Linked DNA regions of Homo sapiens: all the other regions are linked to region 5. The links are contacts of gene promoters, found by promoter capture Hi-C in blood cells and fetal thymus (Javierre and others, 2016). All regions are on one chromosome and are shown on one strand. Each heading gives the region's core, a stretch centred on a gene start or on the middle of the fragment in contact. The rest is flanking DNA. Distances are from core to core; before and after follow the strand shown. Region 1 overlaps IL6ST (interleukin 6 cytokine family signal transducer). Region 2 overlaps IL6ST (interleukin 6 cytokine family signal transducer). Region 3 has its middle 14 kb from the start of IL6ST-DT. Region 4 overlaps IL6ST (interleukin 6 cytokine family signal transducer). Region 5 holds the start of MAP3K1 (mitogen-activated protein kinase kinase kinase 1). Region 6 overlaps IL31RA (interleukin 31 receptor A). Region 7 overlaps IL6ST (interleukin 6 cytokine family signal transducer).

What was found. The method cuts DNA at HindIII sites, captures the fragments that hold promoters and counts their contacts. A CHiCAGO score of 5 or more calls a contact.
Region 1: a contact is called between a fragment that was not itself captured here and the fragment with the promoter of MAP3K1 in region 5, in 6 of 17 cell types (naive CD4 T cells, total CD4 T cells, total CD8 T cells and 3 more). The highest score is 8.5, in naive CD4 T cells.
Region 2: a fragment that was not itself captured here is called in contact with the fragment with the promoter of MAP3K1 in region 5 in 3 of 17 cell types (total CD8 T cells, fetal thymus and naive CD8 T cells); the score reaches 8.3 in total CD8 T cells.
Region 3: a fragment that was not itself captured here is called in contact with the fragment with the promoter of MAP3K1 in region 5 in 2 of 17 cell types (total CD8 T cells and naive CD4 T cells); the score reaches 7.8 in total CD8 T cells.
Region 4: a fragment that was not itself captured here is called in contact with the fragment with the promoter of MAP3K1 in region 5 in 7 of 17 cell types (naive CD4 T cells, fetal thymus, monocytes and 4 more); the score reaches 10.9 in naive CD4 T cells.
Region 6: a contact is called between a fragment that was not itself captured here and the fragment with the promoter of MAP3K1 in region 5, in 1 of 17 cell types (naive CD8 T cells). The highest score is 6.9, in naive CD8 T cells.
Region 7: a fragment that was not itself captured here is called in contact with the fragment with the promoter of MAP3K1 in region 5 in 8 of 17 cell types (total CD8 T cells, naive CD4 T cells, total CD4 T cells and 5 more); the score reaches 9.6 in total CD8 T cells.

Annotation. Positions count from the first base shown.
Region 1 is chr5:55,967,062-55,970,173 of GRCh38, reverse strand. IL6ST (interleukin 6 cytokine family signal transducer) reads left to right here. Exons shown (of 17, transcript NM_002184.4): 4 at 319-624; 5 at 1,778-1,898. Among named protein-coding and RNA genes, the nearest start is that of IL6ST, 26 kb to the left of the region's middle. The HindIII fragment of the contact is 984 bases long and covers 764-1,747 here.
Region 2 is chr5:55,986,426-55,989,615 of GRCh38, reverse strand. All of the region lies in intron 1 of IL6ST (interleukin 6 cytokine family signal transducer), which reads left to right. Among named protein-coding and RNA genes, the nearest start is that of IL6ST, 6.9 kb to the left of the region's middle. The HindIII fragment of the contact is 3,824 bases long and covers 1-3,190 here.
Region 3 is chr5:56,007,198-56,010,312 of GRCh38, reverse strand. No RefSeq gene overlaps it. Among named protein-coding and RNA genes, the nearest start is that of IL6ST-DT, 14 kb to the right of the region's middle. The HindIII fragment of the contact is 562 bases long and covers 1,408-1,969 here.
Region 4 is chr5:55,933,121-55,936,617 of GRCh38, reverse strand. It overlaps IL6ST (interleukin 6 cytokine family signal transducer), which reads left to right. Exons shown (of 17, transcript NM_002184.4): 17 at 1-1,523. Among named protein-coding and RNA genes, the nearest start is that of IL6ST, 60 kb to the left of the region's middle. The HindIII fragment of the contact is 1,043 bases long and covers 850-1,892 here.
Region 5 is chr5:56,813,637-56,816,969 of GRCh38, reverse strand. It overlaps MAP3K1 (mitogen-activated protein kinase kinase kinase 1), which reads right to left and starts at 1,421. Exons shown (of 20, transcript NM_005921.2): 1 at 915-1,421. The coding sequence starts at 1,396. RefSeq lists silencers at 324-563, 744-863, 934-1,703 and enhancers at 1-612, 2,064-2,193. The HindIII fragment of the contact is 8,983 bases long and covers 1-3,333 here.
Region 6 is chr5:55,914,802-55,917,974 of GRCh38, reverse strand. It overlaps IL31RA (interleukin 31 receptor A), which reads right to left. Exons shown (of 15, transcript NM_139017.7): 14 at 3,047-3,128; 15 at 1-1,331. The coding sequence ends at 855. Among named protein-coding and RNA genes, the nearest start is that of IL31RA, 65 kb to the right of the region's middle. The HindIII fragment of the contact is 5,310 bases long and covers 1-3,173 here.
Region 7 is chr5:55,950,578-55,953,611 of GRCh38, reverse strand. IL6ST (interleukin 6 cytokine family signal transducer) reads left to right here. Exons shown (of 17, transcript NM_002184.4): 12 at 1,261-1,362; 13 at 1,537-1,683; 14 at 2,008-2,148. Among named protein-coding and RNA genes, the nearest start is that of IL6ST, 43 kb to the left of the region's middle. The HindIII fragment of the contact is 628 bases long and covers 1,106-1,733 here.

The DNA of each region.
Region 1 (3,112 bases), core at 6-2,505, 850 kb after region 5:
GATACGTTGTGGGGCAAGTATGAATCATGCTGCAGGCAGTCTGTGTTTCTTAAAGAAATAGTTTATACCATGGGCTATAAAGCATGAATGGGTTTTTCTTAATTCAGCTCTATTATCTTTATAATTTGTATATTTCTTTACAAATTCAGGCATTAAATTCTAACCATATTAATTTTCAGTTGTGTATTGTCTTTTTCTGTGTCTTTAGGGATATTTTAGTGACGGTTGAGGGACTCTACATTGAGTGCTACCAGCTAGATATCATTTTGTACCAGAAAAATTCAGTCCATTTATATATTTTCTATTGTTCCTTTTTAGGTGAACTTCTAGATCCATGTGGTTATATCAGTCCTGAATCTCCAGTTGTACAACTTCATTCTAATTTCACTGCAGTTTGTGTGCTAAAGGAAAAATGTATGGATTATTTTCATGTAAATGCTAATTACATTGTCTGGAAAACAAACCATTTTACTATTCCTAAGGAGCAATATACTATCATAAACAGAACAGCATCCAGTGTCACCTTTACAGATATAGCTTCATTAAATATTCAGCTCACTTGCAACATTCTTACATTCGGACAGCTTGAACAGAATGTTTATGGAATCACAATAATTTCAGGCTGTAAGTTTTGTTTTTGTCTTATTTCAGACTTTGTCATGACTATTGAACTGCATTTTTAATGTTGTCCTTTCATCTTTATAAAATGTAGTAACTTGTGGACTTAGTGACTTGGACATGTTTGGTTTTTAAAAAATAAGCTTAGAAGTAGGAACCACAAGTCTCCTGTCTTTCCTGAAAGTCAAGCAGTTTCACTTTACTAGAGAAATATTTGACATGAGACCCCCCCCACCACAGGAAAGTATTGTTGAATTGACATAATGATGGTAATTCTCAGTATCCCTTAATTGCTGAGAAAATGCACGTGTAAAGCAGCTACCTGAAGAAAGCGAACAAATACTGGAGTAAATCCTTTTTTTTTTTTTGGTGACAGAGTCTCGCTCTGTCACCCAGGCTGGAGTGCAGTGGCATCATCTCAGCTCACTGCCCTCCCGGGTTCAAGCAATCCTCCTGCCTCAGCCTCCCAAGTAGCTGGGACTACAGGCATGAGCCACCACGCCCGGCTAATTTTTCATATTTTTAGTAGAAATGGGGTTTCGCCATGTTGGCCAGGCTGGTCTCAAACTCCTGACCTCAGGTGATCCACTTGCCTCGGGCTCCCAAACTGCTGGGATTACAGGCGTGAGCCACTGTGCCTGGCCTTGGAGTAACAAAGTAAACAAAATAAACTTACTATGATCCAAAAGTGGGTTATCTAATTTGTGGATCACCCAGACTTTACTGTTTTGGCATTTGCTTTTCTTCCAACGAGTTTGGGAAAGCAATAAGAAGAGAAATATAAATGAATCATTTTGGCTTCTACTTAGTTGCCTCTTACAAACATATGTATATATTACTTTTAAAAATATACTTAATGGAGAAATCAGTTGATATTTTTTTCCAGTTATAAATGAAAGTTGATTTTACATAGAAAATTAATGTGAAACAAACCAGTTGATGACAGTTAGGATGGATGTATATATATTACTTCCTGAAAAGAAGTGTAAGAGTTGGGATAGAAAAGAAATTGTCATCAGCCTTTCATTGTGTCCATACTTTTTGCTTGGGTTTGATTTTTTTCATCTAATTTAGATCGCAAATGCCTTGGGTAGTATATAAATTGCATAATATTTGTGGATATAAAGCTTTCTGAAAGATGCTAATTAATCCCTTTTAGTGCCTCCAGAAAAACCTAAAAATTTGAGTTGCATTGTGAACGAGGGGAAGAAAATGAGGTGTGAGTGGGATGGTGGAAGGGAAACACACTTGGAGACAAACTTCACTTTAAAATCTGAATGGTACGTTATTTTAAATTTGTTTCATGTTAGATTTATTAAAGTTAGTCATTTTTGCTGGAATTTTTATTTTACCAAGTAATAATATTAAATGCTATTTTAAAACATTTAATTTTTTATTCTGTAACATTTCAAATATATGTAAAAGTAGAGGCCAGGCGCGGTGGCTCATGCCTGTAATCCCCCAGGCGCGGCGGCCCATGCCTGTAACTCCAGCACTTACGGAGGCTGAGGTGGGCAGATAACTTGAGGTCAGGAGTTCGAGACCAGCCTGGCCAACCAGAGCAAAACCCTGTCTCTACCAAAACTACAAAAATTAGCCAGGCATGGTGGCGGGTGCCTGTAATCCCAGTGACTCGGAGGTTGAGGCAGGAGAATCACTTAAATCCAGGAGGCGGAGGTTGCAGTGAGCCCGGATTGCACCACTACACTCCAGCCTGGGTAACAGAGTGAGACTCCATCTCAAAAAAAATAAATAAATAAAAAATAAAAGTAGAAAGAATAGTAGAATACCCATACATACCCATCACTCAGCTTCAACACTGGTCAGCTCATGACCAGTCTTATTTCAAAGGTACTCTTTGCCTATATTGTCTTGAAGAGAGAATCGCGGGCATCATATTTCATCCAAAGATATTTCAGTATGCGTCTCTAAAAGATGAGGACATTTTAAAAAAAAGCATAACAACATACCACTGTTACACTCAGATATAAAATATTACATTTTCAGTTAGTGTTGATTTCCCCTATGTCTCATGAATATGCCTATATGTATAATTTTTTTTACATTTGTTTCAGTCAAGATTCGAATAAGCTCCATACTTTGTGAATTTATGTCTTGTCTCTTAAATTATAGGTTCTATTTGTTCTTTTTTCTTACATTTCAGTTGTTAAACTGTTATACATTGTACATTGTTTAACATATTCCCTTGTCTTTTTTTTTTTTTTTTTTTTTTTTTTTTTTTTTTTGAGATGGAGTCTTGCTCTGTCACCTAGGCTGGAGTACAGTGGCATGATCTCTGCTCACTGCAACCTCCGCTTCCCAGGTTCAAGCAATTCTCCTGCCTCAGCCTCCTGAGTAGCTGGGATTACAGGCATGTGCCACCATGCCCAGCTAATTTTTTTCTATTTTTAATAGAGAGGGTTTCACCATGTTGGTCAGGCTGGTCTTGAACTCCTGACCTCGTGATCTGGCTGCCTCTGCCTCCCAGAGTGCT
Region 2 (3,190 bases), core at 655-3,154, 830 kb after region 5:
TATTTCTTAAGCAATGGTGAGAACATGGATGTTCATCAAAGTGCTCTGTAAACCTTTTCATTTGGCTAAAATAGTCTAATTTTAAAAGGCCCTAAGGTCATAAGCATATTCTATGTGTTTTTCAATATGCTTATAATTTTGCTTTTGCATTTAGGTCCTTAATCTGGAGAGAGAGTGTATGCTTATACATGCATGTGCACGTGCATGAGTGTGTGTCTTTTTGTCTGATGAAATGGGGTTCTTTTTTTTCTTTTTTGCTTATGGAGCCAGTTGTCCCAATACTATTTATTGAATAGTCCTTTATTTTCCCAGCAAATGAGCAACCTTTTAAAAAATCAGATACTAAATTCTTATATACACTTGAGTGTGTTTTGTTTTGTACCATTGATTTAGTTGTCTATTCATTTGCCAATCAGTGCTATGTTTACTTTACCTTTAGACTGCCCTTTTTTTTTTTTTCTGCGAGACTTTTTTTTTTTTTGAGACAGAGCCTCGCACTGTTACCCAGGCTGGAGTACAATGGCAAGATCTTGGCTTCTTAGCTTGCTGCAGCCTCTATAAGCCCAGGCTCAAGTGGTTGTCCCACCTCAGCTTCCTGAGTAGCTGGGATTACAGGCATGGTCCACCATGCCCGGCTGATTTTTTTTTTTATTTTTTTTTTATTTTTTATAGAGATGGGGTTTTGCCATGTTGCTTAGGCTGGTCTTGAACTCCTGGGCTCAAGCAATCTACCTACCTCGGCCTCCCAAAGTGCTGGGATTACAGCCGTGAGCCACTGCACCCAGCCTTCTGTTACATTTTCTAATTAGTTATTACTGGTATGTAGGAGAGCTTTTTTTTTTTTTTTTGGAGATGGAGTTTTGCTCTTGTTGCCTGGGCTGGAGTGCAGTGGCGACATCCCGGCTCACTGCAACCTCCGCCTACTGGGTTCAAGTGATTCTCCTGCCTCAGCCTCCCAAGTAGCTGAGATTACAGGTGTGCGCCACCACTCCCGGCTAATTTTGTATTGTTATTAGAGACAGGGTTTCTCTATGTTGGTCAGGCTGGTCTCGAACTCCCAACCTCAGGTGATCTGCCTATCTCGGCCTCCCAAAGTGCTGGGATTATAGGCGTGAGCCACCGCGCCAGCTGGAGAGCTATTTTTTGATGATGTTTTGTTTGACTGTTATGTTAAACTCTAAATAGTCCTATTATTTTTTGATGATGTTTTGTTTGACTACTGTGTTAAATTCTCAATAGTCCTAATAGTTTGTCATGTGATTCTCACTCTTTCTTGATAGATGATCATATCATTCACAATTTATTTTCCATTTTTAGATCTTATTTATTATATTTTTGCTTAAGCCCTTTAGAGCAGTGGTGAATAACTGATGACTTCAAGCATCTTGTCTGAATCTTGACATTAATAGGAACGCTTCTAATTTTTACCTTTAAACCTATAGATGCTTATTATAGGTTTCTTTCTTCCTTTTTTTTTTTTTTTTGGAGGCAGAGCCTCACTCTGTCGCCCAGGCTGGAGTGCAGTGGTGCATTCTCGGCTCACTGCAACCTCTGCCTCCCGGGTTCGAGCAATTCTTCTGCCTCAGCCTCCCAAGTAGCTGGGACTATAGGTGCCCACCACCACGACCAGCTAATTTTCATATTTTTAGTAGAGACAGCGTTTCACCATATTGGCCAGGCTGGTCTCAAACTCCTGACCTTGTGATCCACCTGCCTCGGCCTCCCAAAGTGCTGGGATTACAGGCGTAAGCCACCATGCCTGGCCTTGTAGGTTTCTTATAGTAGTACCTGTGGCAGCAACAGCAAGAGCTGCACTAATAATAACAGCTGTTAACCTTTTATTGAGTAGTTACAATGAGCCAAATGATTCTAAGCACTTTATGTATAATGAGTTATTTAATCATCATAACATTCCTAGATGGGTAGGTGGTGGTGGTACCCCATGTTTACAGATAAAGGAAGTAAAAGTGAAGGCTATTTAAAAACTTGCCTAAGATGTTAAAATATAGGGACTGAAATTTGAACACAAGCAATCTGGTTCTAGAGTCCCTGTATCATCTTTGTTATCCTTCACCAAGGTAAGGATGGTCTCTTTCAGTCTTAGTTTTCTGACACTTTGTTGTTATTTTTAAGTTTTAGATGAACAGTTGTTGAATGTTATCAGATGCTTTTCAAACATCTGTTGGAATGACCCTGTCATTTTCCTTTGGTCTGTTAATATAGTAATTAGCAGTATCTTTTCTCATTTTGAACTGTGCTTATTTTAGGCTAAATACTTGTTAGCATTCACACTTTGGTTTTGTTTTCAAATCTATTTAGACTTTTCTCTAACCATACTACAAAAAAATGTTAAAGGCAGTTTTTCAGGCCCAAGGAAAATGATACCAGATGGAAATACGGATCTATACAAAGGAATTAAAAGCTCTAGAAATGGTAACCACACGAGTAAATATGTGCCAGTCTCACTCTGTCACCCAGGCTGGAATGCAGTAGTGCAACCACAACTCACTGCAGCCTCGACCTCCAAGGCTCAAGCAGTCCTCTCACCTCAGCCTCCTGAGTAGCTGGGACAACAGGCATGCACCACCACAGCTGTCTAACTTTTTATTTTTTGTAGAGGCGAGAGTCTTACTATATTGCCCAACCTGATCTTAAACTTCTGGGCTTAAGTGATCCTCCTGCCTTGGCCTCCCAGAGTGATGGGATTTCAGGTGGGAGCTACCAATGTGAAGTTTTAATATATGCAAAAGTAAAATATATGCTAAAATAGCACAAAGGTCTGGGGGGAGAAATGGAAGTATACTATTATATACTATGCCTGAGGTGACATAATATTACTTGAAGATAGATTGTGAAAAGTTAAAGATGTACACTATAAACCTAAAGCAACCAATAAGAAAACAAAGAATTATAGCTTATTAGCTAACAAGGAAAAGAGAATAAAAAATAATTAAGAAAAATAAATGCAGAAAAGTAAACAGGAACAAAGAACAGTCAAGAAGAAAACAAATATGAAGCTGATAGCTTTAAACCTAATCATATCACAAATTATATTAAATGTAAATGGTCTGAACACCCAATTGGAAAGCAGAGATTATCAGATTGGATACAACCACATGCTGCCTACCCCCTAAAGATGCCACTTAAATATGAAGAAACATACAGATTAAACAAAAAAGAATGGGAGAGG
Region 3 (3,115 bases), core at 439-2,938, 810 kb after region 5:
CAGGCTGACCTCAAGTAATCCACCCGCTTCGGCCTCCCAAAGTGCTGGGATTACAGGCATGAGCCACCGTGCCTGGCCAAAACAGTGGTTTATCATCTTGATCCTGCCATTAACTAATTGTTTGAACCAGAAACTAATTGAAACCAAGTCCCAATGTCTTCAGTGAAACAAACTGCAGTGTGTGTGTGTGTGTGTGTGTGTGTGTGTGTGTGTGTGTGTGTGTAAAATAAAGGTCTGGGCCAGGCGCAGTGGCTCACGCCTGTAATCCCAGCACTTTGGGAGGCCAAGGCAGGCGGATTACCTGAGGTTGGGAGTTCAAGACCAGCCTGACCAACATGGAGAAACCCTGTCCCGACTAAAAATACAAAATTAGCCAGTCGTGGTGGCAGGCACCTGTAATCCCAGCTACTCAGGAGGCTGAGGCAGGAGAATTGCTTGAACCCGGGAGGCAGAGATTGCGGTGAGCCAAGATTGCACCATTGCACTCCAGCCTGAGCAACAAGAGTGAAACTCCGTCTCAGGGGAAAAAAAAAAGGTCTGACATTTAGGCTTTCATTATTATTTTGAGACTCCAAACCACAGATCCCCACTAAGTTATCCTAGTTTACTAGTCAGTCCATAAGTCTTCCATGATTAAACTTACTAGTAATGATAATCATAACAACAATAATAATATACCTTAAAAATTATAAAATATTTTTCCATGTCTAGCACTTTTACATATATTATCTTATTTAGATTTCATAACAACTTATTGAAAGAGATTGTATTTCCATTTTACAGATAAGGAAATGGAGGTTCAGGTGAGACAAGTAATCTGTCTATAGTTATAGAACTAATAAATGGTAGAGCCACCTGGTTTTCTATCTCCATGTCCAGAGATTCCTATCAAACCTATCATCATAAACAACAAAGAATTACCAATTGTCTAATACATTAAGGATAGTGTGCCTGGCTCTATTTGCCTAACTGGTTGCTTCCACCAAGGCCCAGCAGAACAAAAATCAGAGCCAGCAGCCACATACCCCCTTGATCCGAGCCTGGCCCCCTTGCACATATGTGATCCTGTGAAATTCACTAACACATAAAGCATCATGCCATCTGAAGGCACAAAATAGCTATTAATAATCCCCTGCATTGGTAAAGTCCCCTCCCTTCTGGAATGTTAGTTTTACAAAGATTATCATATAATTTCCTCCAGGGCAGTTTTAATGATGTGCCCTGTTTCCTTATGTGAGAAAGACTCAAGAAGAATTATTGAAACTCATTAGTTGCTTCCAAAAAGAGAAATATTTTGGTTGGCATAATGTCAACTGTTGATCCACAGGTTCAACCTGACTATTCTACTTAGAAAAAGCACAAATGAGTTTGGGTTTATTCAAGATCTGAAACCTTCTGGCCAAAGCTTAAAGGTACTTGTGTTCTTACCAGTGAAAATTCCAACCAACATGAAAAACACCTCACACAGAGGTCATCTTGTATTTCCTCAGAGATCCATGCCAGAATATGCTGAGGGCTTTCAGGGTCATGCCATGGTAGCTCCTTCCACCCATGATCTCCATATTTCTAATTAATTTTTTCCCACTTTTTGGTCTTTTTACCCAAACTAGAAAGTTTCTCCAAGAGGGAGCATGTGTTGGTGTCCAAAGTGTTTCTGCTGGAGAATGGCAGTGACAGGGCAAAGTGGGCACAATGCTATGATGAAGTTTGAGTTGACTTTACCCTCATCTTCTTCCCTCACAAACCAAACCCTGGAAACCATGCAGAAAAGCCTCTCCTGAGGCTTGGCTACAGGAGAGGCAAAAGTAGAGGGAGCAGCAAGGCAGTTGCCTCCTTCCAAGATTACACCCAGGCTAATCTGAGGCTACCATACCCTCTGCTATGTCTACTCCCAATATATCTGTGAAATTTATTGGAAAATTTCAATGCACTATTAAAAACGTCATGAGTGTAGTCAGTAAAATAAGCTTTTAACAACATAGGAAATTGTTTAGGCCATGGTGGTAATTGACAAAACAAATAAAAAATTATATGCATCTAAAAGATATTAGAAATACACCAAAATAGCTGTGTGTAGTGGCTCATGCTTGTAGTTCCAGCAATTTAGGAGGCCAAGGCAAGAGGATTGCTTGAGGCCAGGAGTTTGACACCAGCTTGGGCAACATAGGGAGACCTCATCTCTACAAAAATTTTTTTTAATTAGCTGGGCGTAATGGCACACACCTGTAGTCCCAGCTACTTAGGAGGCTGAGGCCGGAGGATCACTTGAGCTTAAGAGTTTGAGGCTGCAGTGAGCTATGATAGAGCCACTGCATGACAGAGAGACTGTGTTTCTTTATATATATAATATTTATATACAATAAATATATAATATATACATTTATAATATATAAGGAATATATAATTATATAAATCATAATTTAATTATATAATTTAATTATATAATTATATAATTATATTATATAGTATATATTATATATAATATATACTATATAATATAATTATTATATATATTATATATCCTATATTATATTATATAGTATATATTATATATATTATATTATATATTATATGTAATATATTATATAATATATAATATTATATATCATGTATCATATATTATATATATTATATCATATATAATATATAAAATATATATATTATATATGATATATGATATATCATATATATTATATATGATATATGATATATCATATATCATATATAAAATATAATATATAATATATAATATATATAATATATAATATATGATATCATATATTATATATTATATATCGTATATTATATATTTGATATATCATATATCATATATTATATATCATAGTATATTATATCATATATTATATATTATATAGTATATCATATATTATATATTATATATAGTATATATGATATATAATATATAGTATATAATATATAATGTATATATTGTATAATATATAATATATAATGTATATATTGTATAATATATAATATATATTATATATGATATATATTAAATATATAAATAATATATAATATAATATATATCATATATCATATATCATATAATATATATAATATATAATATAATATATAATAATTGTATAATTTA
Region 4 (3,497 bases), core at 122-2,621, 880 kb after region 5:
CTATGCATATTTGTAACAGCATTTATCATTAGTGGTGTTAGCTAAATAAGCATCTTAGTGTAAATGAGATGCTTCGTGTGGGTTTTGTGACATTTTAAATGACATAATGGAATGTGATTTAAAAGAAAACCAGTACACTATCTTGGTCTTAATAACATAGAATGGAGATGGCAAATTTATCCACTAGTTTTCCAGATTTACTATTTAATAGCTGAGGTCTGAAATCGTAGCATCCTCCCTCCTAGTGGACATTAAAAAAAAAAAAAAAAAAAAAAACCTACTTGGTTGTCAAGAGCCCAAGTATGGAGGTGCTGCGCCATCTTGTGGCCTGTCTGTGCCCACCCTGCACTCTGCTGGAGTCTCCATCCTTGTTGCAGTGAGACTTGAAGTTCAAGATTGATACATGGCATCCTCCTGCTACTTCTTGAGGTTACTAAGTAGTATATGAAACTAATCAGTCAGCAAGTCCACCTGGAAGGAAAAGAAAATCTCAACTATTAATGTGCCTTCACATTGTGATTTTGTCTAAAAAAATGTAGTGAGTCAAAAAACCCACAAGCCAGCCAACAGTAACTCCTTCACATATATACCAGAGTTTATAGAAATAACATGTCAGCTTTGGGCTATGTGCTCCTTTGTTTAAAATCTTCTATTTGGTTATGGCTTGTATAGGCTCAAGCCTGATTTCTTTAAGGTGTGGTGGCTCATCTTATCCTAATGTGTATGATAGATACAGTCCATCCTGCTTTGGAAAAGATTATGTAACTCCTTGAGAGCATACTCTTTCTCTAGCCCAAAGGCAGTGAGAGAGTTTTCTTGTTCAGGATTGCTTAACTTTCCATTTAAGCTTTTTCTTTTTAAATTAATACAAACTTCTACACTTTCAAAATACGAAATATATTACAACTGCGTATAGGCTCTTCCATACTTAAGTCCAGTGCTTGGGCAAGTTAATGGAGTGAAAGACTACAAGCAAAGAGGAACTGAGGTAGAAAAAGAAGAATGTGTGAAAGCAGCAGGAAGCTCAGCCAACTCGAAAGCAGGGTGAACAGCTTGAGTCCTGTTGCTGCTGATCGGGGTTGGCTCTTGGACAACTTAGTAAGATCATGGAAAGGCTGCTTGGGTTCTCCATAGAAAAGTTCTGTCTCCATCAAGGGAGGAAAATGTACCTTTCAACTCAAAATTCAATATTTGTTTTTAAATATAGCTATTTTCCCCAACCGCTAAAGATTTTCAACAGATACGAAGCCAGAGCTTAGTTTTAGAAACCTGTGGACATTCAAACCTGATTCTTTATTCCCTGTGACTATGGTTATGTCATTTTACATGTCAAAAAAGTGTATCTAGAATTGTCATTTCTTATTTTTGAGCTTTTTTTAGTGAGAATTATCCCCTCACTTAAATGGCTTTTTATTTAAACATCTGTGCATTCTGTATGAAATTGTAGTCTTTCTGGGATAACATGGTGAGCTATATGGTGGTAATCCACACACACAAAAATAAAAGCCAAAAAAAAACCAAAACCCTCAGGTAAAGTATTTCTCTTTCTTCAACTGTCTCATTAGCCCTGGCTGTGGATGGTCTTTCTGAGACAGGCTAGCCAGAGTAATTCAACGGCCACAAGTGGTTTCTCCCCCAGAGTGCTGGTTCAAACTCTGAATGAGACCAGCCTGTTGATTAGAAATCTAATACCTCAGTCCAGGCCTACTTTCCTAGAACAATCTTCACTTAGTAACAGGTCCAAGACACAACTATTAAGTATACATCTGGGTCCCTTCCCCGTAGGAAAAGGTTTTCCCTGCAGTCTTGCCTGTAGTCAGAAGCAGCCTGTTGACTAATGATAGCTTTTAAATGAATTTATAGAAAATTCTTGGAAATAGGCTCTATAAGCTTTATGAGAGGGATAATGCTTTTAAAGGAATGGCATGAAGGGGAATATTTAAATAAAAAGGCACTGAGATTCTGACAATAGAAACCATAATTCTGCATAAGCGTTCTGAGAATGAAAAGTCAGCCACTCTTCAGGTCAAAGTCAGTGTGGATTTTGCCAGTTGTTCAATCTAGACATACGAACACCAGGGCTACCCAGCCAGCATCAGTGCCTAGGAAAGGACCTCCAAGAAACTTTTAACTGCCACGGTCAGAATCGAGACTAGACATTGCTGCTGGGGGTGAGGGGCCGCTCCTCTTCAAATGAACCGGCAGACCTTTCTGATCACCTGCTGGGGGCCACATGCCGGAGCAGGGTGTCCAAAGGTGAGCAAATATATGCCATCTATGAAGTGTTTACTGTGGGTTATGAAATCCTAGAAACTTATGAGGTAAATACCAGCACCATTTACAAATGCAGCCTCCAAGAGGTTGAATAACTTGCCCGGGGTCATGTGGTTGACAAACAGTGGAGTTCCAACTCCAACCTGATCCAAAGTCCGCATTCTTTGATGTGTACACCAATTGTACCCAACCACTTAAGCAAAATTCTTGATGACGTCATGCCCAGGCTAGCTTAAGGAGAATGCACACCTGCTTCCCAGGCCCTTCAAACTCTTCTGAGTTTCTCTTCCCCTCATCTCCCTCCCCACCACCCTTATTTGTGAATATGGGGCACCTTGTGCCCTCAAGCAGCCCCCTGCAATTGCCTACCTTGAAGTGTCCTAACTGAGCCTCGAGCCCAGAGCAGTACTTCTCCTTATGCCCTCAAGGTTTACTCCGAGGCTGGCTCCCCACCCCTACTAGCACATACATTTGCTCTGACCCTATAGAGCAACCCCTGCAAAAGAGGTCAATGTGTCCCACTTTCCTGAGAATGCACCCTCACACGACCCCTGGAGTCTCATTCTTTTGGCCAAAGAAAGACTCCTCTAATGGTGGAATCTAGCCCATGGCAACTAGTGACAGGAGGATCTCCGGCAGGGGCTTTTCCTGGGTGCTCAGACCACGGTCCTACCCCAGGTGGTTCTGTCCACAGACTTCCCCGGGCCCGCTGCCTAGCGCGAGCACCCGTTCCAGCCTGCCTCACCTTCACGGTGCCGCCAGCCACTCCTCTCCATCTCCTGCCACTCCCAGAGGGGCTGCCTGCTGCTGCCCCGCTGTGCTGACCTCATTCCCCACATTTGCTTTCTGTCCTTTTGGGGCCTCGCTGGACCTTTCCAACCCCCCAGCTGCACACTTTATAGTTTCCAGAACATACTGAGTTTCTTCTAACCTAGCCCATGCACATGATTTCCTCCCCTAGAATGTTCTCCAGTCCCCAGTCCCTGTTAAGCTGGGAAATTCTTACTGGTTCACCAAAAATCAACTCAAATAGATACCCTCTTGAGGGAAATCTTCCATTCTTCTCTCTCCTTCCCCCTGAGTTAAGGGCCTTCTATATCCTGGCACCTACTGCTGGGCCTCTGGAGAGAGGGCCCCAGCTCAGTCCTCTCCTGGCCCAGCATAGTGCTCGGTGTTTGGCAGAGCTTGCTTATATGAACAGGTAAGTGGGTGAATAAACAAGT
Region 5 (3,333 bases), core at 172-2,671:
GAGGGGCTGCGGGGAGCAGTCACCACTGCTTTGAAACTGAATGGCTGACACATCCGGTCCTGGCTCTTACACCACTCCGCCAAATGCAAACTTCAAAGGCCAAATTCAAACTCCAAACAGAAGTCACTCAAGTGACTTAGCAGTGCAGTTCGCATTCCCAGGAACACTCAAAGCCCCTTGGGGGCTGCAATTAGACAAACCGCACTTCCTAAAAGACTGCAAGCCTCCGCGAGTGTGCAGCCTCCCGCCGCACGGCTTTGACAGGCGTTACCGAGCCGTCCTCCTGGAGCCCTGCGGCCGGCGCTGGGGGCGCGCCGCCTGCGTCCGGGCCCAGCCCGCGGTATCTGCCTAGGGACTCGAGTCCCGGGCGGGCCGAGGGGCTCTGCCTGTCACGGCCGCTGGGACCTGCTACTTTCTCTTCGGTCCTCTCAGTCTCCCACCCGACCTCGGGCTTCTCACCCACCCCGCCCCTCTTCCGACCACCGCCCGCCTCAGGCTCGGGCCTCGCCCCCCAGTGCCTTTGCCCCGGGGACACCCGTCCGGGGGCGCCGCCGCAGGGCCGTGCCCCGCCCCCGGGCTCCTCGGAGAGCCCCGATTCCAGGAGTCCCACAAAGCCAGCCGTGGCCCCCTACACCTTTTCGCAACGGTTCCCCGCAGAGAGGCTCGCACGCCTGTCACATGTCTGCAAACAATAACAAACTCTTCCGCACGTCCCCGTCCGGTCCCCCAGGCTGGGTCCGGGGCGCCGCCCGACTCCGAAGGGGTCGGGGGGTGCTCAGGGGCGTAGGTCCCGGCGAGCGGCGCGTAGCCTCGCTGCGCTGAACCCCGGGACGCCGTGCATGGTGCCCGGGGTTCATTCATTGCCCTCTGCCCGCTCTCCAAGTCCCCGCCGCGACCCCGGCCGTGCTGCTCACCCGGCGGGGGCCGCTGCAGGAGACGGCTCGGCGGCGGGCGCCCGCTTCTCCCCGGGCTCGGCCGCTGCGGGACTCGAGGCGCCGCTGTCCGGCGCCGCCACCGACTCGGTAAGGTGGGCGCCGCCGCGGCTCGCGGCTCCGTGGGGCGGCGGCACCGCCACAGGCTGGAAGCCGGTCCCACTCCCCGCTGCGTCCGCGGGCTCCGGCGACGGGGAAGTCGAGGAGGCCGGCGGTGAGGCGGCAAGGAAGAGCGGCTGCTCAGGCAGCTGGTCCAGCTCCACACTCCGCACTTTGCGCAGCTGCCGCCGCCGCCAGTCCGCCCGCTCGCGGCCCCCGCTGCCCGCCTCCCGCAGCAGTCCCGCGGCAGCCGCGGGCGCGCTGCTCGCCTTGAGGGCTCCTCCGCCGCCGCCTGCCTCAGGGCTCGTAGCCCTGGCGCCCGGGAATCCCGACGACGAGGCGCGATTCCCCGCCGCCGCCGCCATTTTCTCTCGCGGGCTACATTCGCTCGGCCCCTGCGAGGGAGGGAGGGGGCGGGGAGAGCGCAGGGGGCGGGCACTGCGCCGCCAGCGTAAGGCCTCCTGCGCCAACTGCGTGAGCGCGGCCCGCCGGGCGCCTGGCCTGGACTGACCGACGGGCGGGCGCACTGGGTCCGGCCTGCGGCAGAGGTGTGGGTGGAGGGCGGCCCGGCGGCCGCAGGTGGGAGGGAGTGGGCTGTGCTCTCCGCCGGGCGAGAGGGCGGGCGGGCGAGGTGGACTGGGAGGCGGAGGGGGCGGGGGCGGAGGCGGAGGCGTGGGCTCCCGGGACTCTGCGCGCTGCACGCGCCGCGCCGCCAGGTAGTCCCGGCCGCACCGGCGACAGGAGGAGCCTTGGCGGCAGCGCTGCGCCGCTTCCTCTCGGCAATCTCGGCCCGGCACCGCGGAGCTCGCGGGAGGGGAGTTGCACCTTCCGAAAGAAAGAATTAGTTCCAACTTGGGTTTCTGGTGCTTGAAGGGGACGCAGGCGAGAGGGTTTACAGTCTGTCATTCCCACTGCCCTTTGCAGTGGGCGTCGGGGGACCCGGGCGTGGACCAGCCTCCCACCGACGCGCAGGTGGCGCCCGGGACCGTCGCCTGCTGCAAAGCGAAAGCAAGTCAACGTTCAGCAGACAGGCTGCCGCGGACCAGAAAAATAAAGTTTTGTTTGTGTTTTCTTTTGAAAAGAAAACATTCCTTCTCTATTGTCCCACCCCTGTCCCTGTGCTACAGATAACAAAACTTCAAAGTTTTCTGTAATACCTTACATCCTGAAGCTGCTGATTTGGGACAACTACCCCCTACCCTCACCAAGTCCCCACAGCCTCTGAGAAACCGTTGGGGCGAGGAAGGGAGGCGGGTGTCCCCGTCGATCTTTAGTTTTTCCTTGGCTGTCTTTGGGAAAGGCAGTCCCGTACAGAACCACATATAGCGCGTTTGGGGAGGGGACCAGCGCTGTGCCAGGAAGTGCTCGGTAATGTCACCCTCGGCCAGGTCCCGGCCCTCCCCGAATCCGATGCTTCTCGCCGCACGTCCTTCTTCCCTGCAGGGTCGGGCCACCGGCCGGGTTCCCTCTGTCCCCACTCCTGCAGGGCCTGGCTGCCCATCGCTGCGTTGTGAGTCCTCCTAGTCCCTGGACTCTACGTGAGAAGGTGCTTTGGGATGGAAAAAGCAACATTTACACGTTAATGATTTTTGACCTTTTGTCAACTGAGGAGAACTTCTGTGTTGCGTTTATTTCTTCCTTCCTTTCCTTTCCTCCAGCTGGTTTGTTTAGGATGGGGAATCTCCCAAAACCCAGGAGGAACGTCTATAGATTTACTTTGTGAAACATGATTAAGGAGGGGGGAGGTTGGGGTGGGGGGGTGCGGATTCTCACGGAGATAGTCTTGTCAGTCTTCACATATTTAGACAAAAGCCTGAACTATTTACAGAATAATTCCATTGACTTCTGGAGACTAGGTAAAATGAAAGCCCCTTTCCCAGATACAATGTTAACTGCGTAACCAGGTTAGATCAGAGGGGTTTTAAAAAGTCCAGATTTCATATTAGCTCAATGATTTGAAAACTGCTGTAACATCTCCCATAAGATAGTTTTAGATCGTTACACCCAACGGTACAAATTTTGAAAGTTCAGATAAATCTGTTAAAAATTAAGTCTACATTTAGGCTATAATTATATGCTATTTTAATGGCAGTCAAATGTATCATTCAAACCAAACAGTGGTTATTTCTCAGGTCTTCCTGGGTTGCCACACCCACCAAATCCTAAACTGAAACGGATAAACTTTCCTTGTTCCTATTTTGATCTAAAGACTTTTACATTTGCACGCACATATTCAGGTACCTGTAAGTGAGAAAAGTAAGTGGAAGACTTTAGCCAGAGTAGCAGAGTAAAAAGGAGATTC
Region 6 (3,173 bases), core at 60-2,559, 900 kb after region 5:
CTTTTAAGTAAGCATTCCTGGGCTCTGAACCAGTGTGAGGGGCCAGCGTCCCTATATGACAACCACTGCAATGTCAGGTGCCTTTCTGCTCCCAGGCTGGGTGCTGAATAGAAGGGCAGCAGCAGCTGGGAAGTGGCCCCCTGGAGACTGGACAGAGCTGCGCCCGGCAGCATACATTCCCCAGGGCCCTCCCCATTCCTTGATTTTTTAGTAGTCAATGCAGTCTAAATTGGGGGTGAGGATTCTCAGGTGCGGTGTTGCTACAGGCACTTGAGATCTAAGAGGATGTGAGGAGCCTCAGACAACCCCTTAGGAAGGTCCACTCCACCTCCAGCCCCAACTATGGGGAGAGAGGAAGGCTTCAGGGCTACCTTGTAGGGGAAGACCAGAGCCCAGGCTCCCACCAGACCACCCAAGAGCCAACAAAACAACTGTCCTCTGGCAGCAGGGAAAGGCCTTCTGGAACTCTGAGGCTCAGCCCCAGCAAAGGCTGGGACCATGACCCAATTCCTGGGAGGCCAGATATGTCCACCCTGGGGGTCCTTTGGGCTCAGAACCTGGGCCCTTCCTTCAAAGTCAATCTGTCAGGAGGCCTCGGTGAGAGCTTGGTATCTGAACAAACGAAAAGAGACTGCTGTTCCTTTACAAAACTCGGGCTTATCACCATCCCTTCTTCCCAGTACAAGGTCGCATCTTTGCCGACCAAGTTCAACTGGCAGCTCAAGGGGCAGGGGAAACTTTAACCTAGGCAGGATGTGGCAGGGCCAAGCAAGCGCTGCGTGCCGAGTCTTGACATCTTCTCTGGCAAGGGCCATCCACACTGAGGCCCCGAGGGTCTCATGCTATGGTCGCATTTAGACTTCTCCCTTGGTGTGCTCTGGAAGTTTTTCAGACACAAGAAATTCCCTGGCTGTCACTGAATTTTTCAAATATGGATTTGGGGCTCCTTCCTCACACAGATGATCTGGTACTAAACTTTGACCAGAAAAGAGAAGCTGCTCTTTGGCTTCTGGGCGGGTCCCCTCTGGCATCCTCGAACGTAGGTATTGGGATTTTCTGGGCGGAATCTCAGGTGAAACTGGGAGCTCCTCAAAACTTTTCCCCAGGGGACAATCAGGCCTGAAGGGGCAGGTCACATACCCATTCTTTTCCCCTCCTAAATTGTTTTCCTGACCCGTTCTGGCTTCATCTGTGAAAATTTCTTGCAGAACATTCCCAAAGTTCACCACCAACTTGTCAATCACCAACTTGTCACTGGGGGTGGAACATGGTTTTAAGATCCTGTCTTCTGTGTTCACAGAGTCATCAGACTCCTTCAGGTTTAGCTTATCCTGGAAAAGAAAAAGGGACATCCCAAGTGGTCATTTAGGAGTCACATATGACATAGCCAAAAACTCGTTAGGCTTGGGACAGCAAATGCCCATCTCTGGAACAGCCCCCACCTTCCTCCCAGGCCCAGAAGTGGTAGCCAACCCTCTCTGCATGCCCTTCCACAGAGCTTGGAAGGAGTGGCACATTTCCTGAGAAACAGTGCCCTGGATTCAAACAATTTTTAAAATTTATTTATTTATATGTATATAATTTTTTTTTTTTTGAGACAGGGTCTCACTCCCGTTGCCCAGGCTGGAGTACAGTAGCATGATCACCACTCACTGCAGCCTCAACTTCTCAGCCTCAGGTAATTCTTCCCCCTCAGCTTCCTGAGTAGCAGGGGCTACAGATGCACACCACCATACCTGGCTACTTTTTAATTTTTTGTAGAGATGGGGTTTTGTCATGTTACCCAGGCTGGTCTTAAACTCCTGAGCTCAAGCAATCCCCCCTGCCTTGGCCTCCCAAAATGCTGGGATTATAGGCATGAGCCGCTGTACCCAGCCAATTCAAACAATTTCTTCTGCTAGAGTGTGCAAGGCTATTTTCCACACAATCCCATGTTCACAAAACCCCAGTTAAGATGGAAGAACTAAAATTAGAACTCTTAGGGATGGAAAAACCACATCATAGAGACAGACTTGTTCAACCTCACCAGAAAATCAGAAGTGGCCTCATGGCAGGGACAGTGACTTTGTCATTTGTATCCCTAGGGCCTAGCCCAGCACCTGGCATGTAGTGAGTGATTAATAAGTGCCGGCTCTAGAGGTCCAACCTACGGATTATTCAAAAAGCATGTTAGTTATCAGAGAGCACTGCCTATGAATCCATTTACTCTCTAAATGACATTTAATAAGCAGGAAAGTAAATGGGGGTATAAATCAGTCCAGTATACCGGACTGATAAGAGGAGGAAACAGAAAGAAAGCCCATTATAACAAAAGGCCCATGCTCAAAAAAGACTTCTGAGTGGGAACGAGGACTAATATTTAAAATTTGTGCATCAAGGAAAAACTGGAAACAGCCTTTCAGTAACAAGGATTTAAAGGTTATATTTGATTGGGCTTGTTTCTACGTAAGCAAGAAATTAAACCTTAAAATTTCCCTAACGGTTTTCCACTTAAAAATTTATGCAAATGGAGGGTTTCTAGTTAAGGAATACTCACTAGAAAACCCCAATGCCAGTTAAATAAAGCCTGACTCTGACGTCCCCAGCCTGAGAAAAACAACCTGAGGCAGCCTCAGACTGCCATGCCCATCAACATTCCCTGGTGATATTTAGACAGTCTTTAGATTAATGTGCTCTTGGCTGCTTTGTAAATGGCTTCAAATCCTATAGCCAAGGCTCCTCTCTCTCTAATTAGCCCATCAGGTCAGGAAGGGTAGGGCCAGTGTCTTTATTCTGCAGCATCCTTTATGGGACCAGTTCCACCTGGGAACGCACTGGGTCCTCATGAGCCTGGTGAAGCCCTTTCCCCTTGTCAAAGCATGAAGTCAAAGTCATTCCAGGAAGGCTGAGTCCATCTGCCCTGCCTGCCATTCCCTGAGACTTTTCAACTCCAGTTCTCTTGATGTGAACCTTGAAAAAAGCTCAGCCTAGGACTCTTTCCCCATCTCCATTCACCTCGTCTACCTCCCACGGCAATGATTTCCTTAATAAAAACAGGAGAGTTTACCTTGAAATCATCTCCATGCCATGTGGCTATACTACTTTCAGCAGGGTTGGGAACGGTGGGCCAACACAGATGAGTCAATTTGCTAATGAGAGAGAAGATTTTAAGATGGGAATTGAATCCAAGAAGC
Region 7 (3,034 bases), core at 170-2,669, 860 kb after region 5:
GAGTTCGAGACCAGCCTGACCAATGTGGATAAACTCCGTCTCTACTAAAACAAAATCAGCTAGGCGTGGTGGCACATGCCTGTAATCCCAGCCATTTGGGAGGCTGAGGCTGGAGAATCTCTTGAACCCGGGAGGCGGAGGTTGCAGTGAGCCAAGATCATGCCATTGCACTCCAGCCTGAACAACAAGAACGAAACTCCATCTCAAAAAAAATAGAAGCTAGCATAAGTTGTGGAGACATTAAGTTTGGGTAGGTAGTCGTATGTTGCTCAGTAACCCTGAAAGCATCACATTAGAGTAGAATATAAAAATTGTTCATTTTTTGGTAATATTGAATCATTAAGAAAAGGTAAAATCTGTTTAAGAAGGTAAAGGAGCATGTAACTTCATGAGTAATAGTTAAGGAATATACATTCTTATTGAAGGTATAAATTTCAATAAAACATTTTCTAATATGTACAGATAATATACTGTATAAATAAGAAAAATTTTAGTGGTGCATGCTAAAAAAGATAAAAATAAAGGAAGTTTGTTTTGGTTTTTGTTTTTTTGAGACAGAGTCTCACTCTGTCGCCCAGGCTGGAGTGCAGTGGTGCGATCTCGGCTCACTGCAAGCTCCGCCTCCTGGGTTCAAGTGATTCTCCTGCCACAGCCTCCCAAGCATCTGGGACTACAGGTGCCCACCACCATGCCCAGCTAATTTTTGTATTTTCAGTAAAGGGGGGTTTCACCATGTTGGCCATGCTGGTCTCAAACTCCTAACCTCAAGTGATCCTCCCACCTTAACCTCCCAAAGTGCTGGGATTACAGACGTGAGCCACAGCGCCTGGCCGAGGAAATTTTTTAAGATACCCTTTTTTCCAACTCGCAAACTAGGACCGTTAGTGCTTTCCCCTAGGTCTTACTGCTTTAGTCGTCTTGCTCCTTAGGCTGTTCTCTCTTGTAGGTAAGACATACAAAAATTGTCAGACTCTATAAAATCCAGAGTAATTTGAGATCATTGTTTTATAAATTCTAAATGTAAATACCATCATTGTTCTTAACAATGTATTTTTTATCCACTGCATTGGCAATACTTTTACAGACAGTTTTACCTGATTAAGCTTGAATCCAGTACACAAAAGACAATGCTTACTTAGAAAACTGCAGTTTTAAAAGAAAATTAAGTGGTCATGAAATTATAATGTAAAAATAAATTACGGTATTAACTTGACTTTTTCATTATGGAAAAACATGCTTAATCTGCTATTCTTGCTTTAGGGAACTTAGCAGAGAGCAAATGCTATTTGATAACAGTTACTCCAGTATATGCTGATGGACCAGGAAGCCCTGAATCCATAAAGGCATACCTTAAACAAGCTCGTAAGTCCAAACTCACTTCTTTGAAAAAAAAAGTTTAGGGCTTTGTATTAACAGAAACATTTTATCGCTTTTAAATAAAGATGTATCTCATTATGTTCAAATGATTTTATGACAAGGAAATTTTACTAGATTGTAAATGATTTTCAGTTAGCAAATGTGTTCACTCTGTTACAGCACCTTCCAAAGGACCTACTGTTCGGACAAAAAAAGTAGGGAAAAACGAAGCTGTCTTAGAGTGGGACCAACTTCCTGTTGATGTTCAGAATGGATTTATCAGAAATTATACTATATTTTATAGAACCATCATTGGAAATGAAACTGGTAATAAAACTGTATCAGTTATTAAGAATCAGTTATTTTTTCCTTAAGCTTTTAAGTACTAATTTAAGTCTGTTCTTCTTATACATCTTATAGTATATTGGCCTCAGGAGACACCTGAGAATTTGCCTTATGGTTACTTTCATGGATTTATTGAAAAAGTATTGTGTTGTGCTTTAGAACATAAAATTATGTCAGAACATTATAAAAGTTGTTTTCCAACAAAAATACTTCGCTTCTTTTTTAACACTTTCACAATGCCAAATATAGGCCAAATAAGCAAAAGCATTGAATAGTTGAATGAAGCACAGTTCTTATTTCTTCCAGCTGTGAATGTGGATTCTTCCCACACAGAATATACATTGTCCTCTTTGACTAGTGACACATTGTACATGGTACGAATGGCAGCATACACAGATGAAGGTGGGAAGGATGGTCCAGAATTCACTTTTACTACCCCAAAGTTTGGTAAGAAATAATGAAGTTTGGTTTTTTTTCTTTCTCAAACTTAGGTTAGAAATGAACTTAGTTTATGTGCTAAAATTGTGTTAAAAAGTACATCTTTGGATTCATGATGATTTTTATATTATCTGGCTTTGGTTGGTGGTTTCTTTATAGAAAGTGTTATTCCTCACCTTTTTGGTATTTTATTAACTGCTTCTGACTATATTCAGCTGTACTAAAAATCCTAAAAGAATTTGTGTATCTTTCCATGTGGGTTCATTTTTTTCACTGGTTTGGGTGTGTTCTTTCCTTCTCTATCCTCATTTCTTTCTTTTATTGAGAGATTACTTGAAGGACTAGTCCACTTTACAGTCTTCACTTCCGTACCTCCCACTCAGTATTTAACATACTGAAATTAGGGGTCCTACCCCACCCCTGCACTGAAACCTCTCTGGTGTCACTCAGAAGACCTCTTGATCATCATATGTACTGCATGCTTTTTAGTTTTCATCTTTTTTCTACTTTTTTTTTTTGGAGGCAGGGTCTTACTCTGTTGCCCAGGCTACAGTGGAGTGCAATGGCATGAACATGGCACACTGCAGCCTTGACCTCCTGGGCTCAAGTGATCCTCCTACCTCAGTTTCTCAAGTAGCTGGGACCAGTGCCACCACATCCAGCTAATTTTTTTTATAGAGATGGCTGGTCTCAAACTCCTGGGCTCAAGTGATCCTTCTGCCTTGGCCTCCTAAAGTGCTGGGATTATAGACATAAGCCACTGCCTCCAGCCTTTTCTGCATTTGACTCTGTTGGCCTTCCATCCTTGAAACTCCCTCCTCCCTTGGGTTTTCTAACCATACTTTTTCTGCTAGCACAGTCTCCTGAGTCTCCTTGTTCTTTGGTGTTTTCTTCT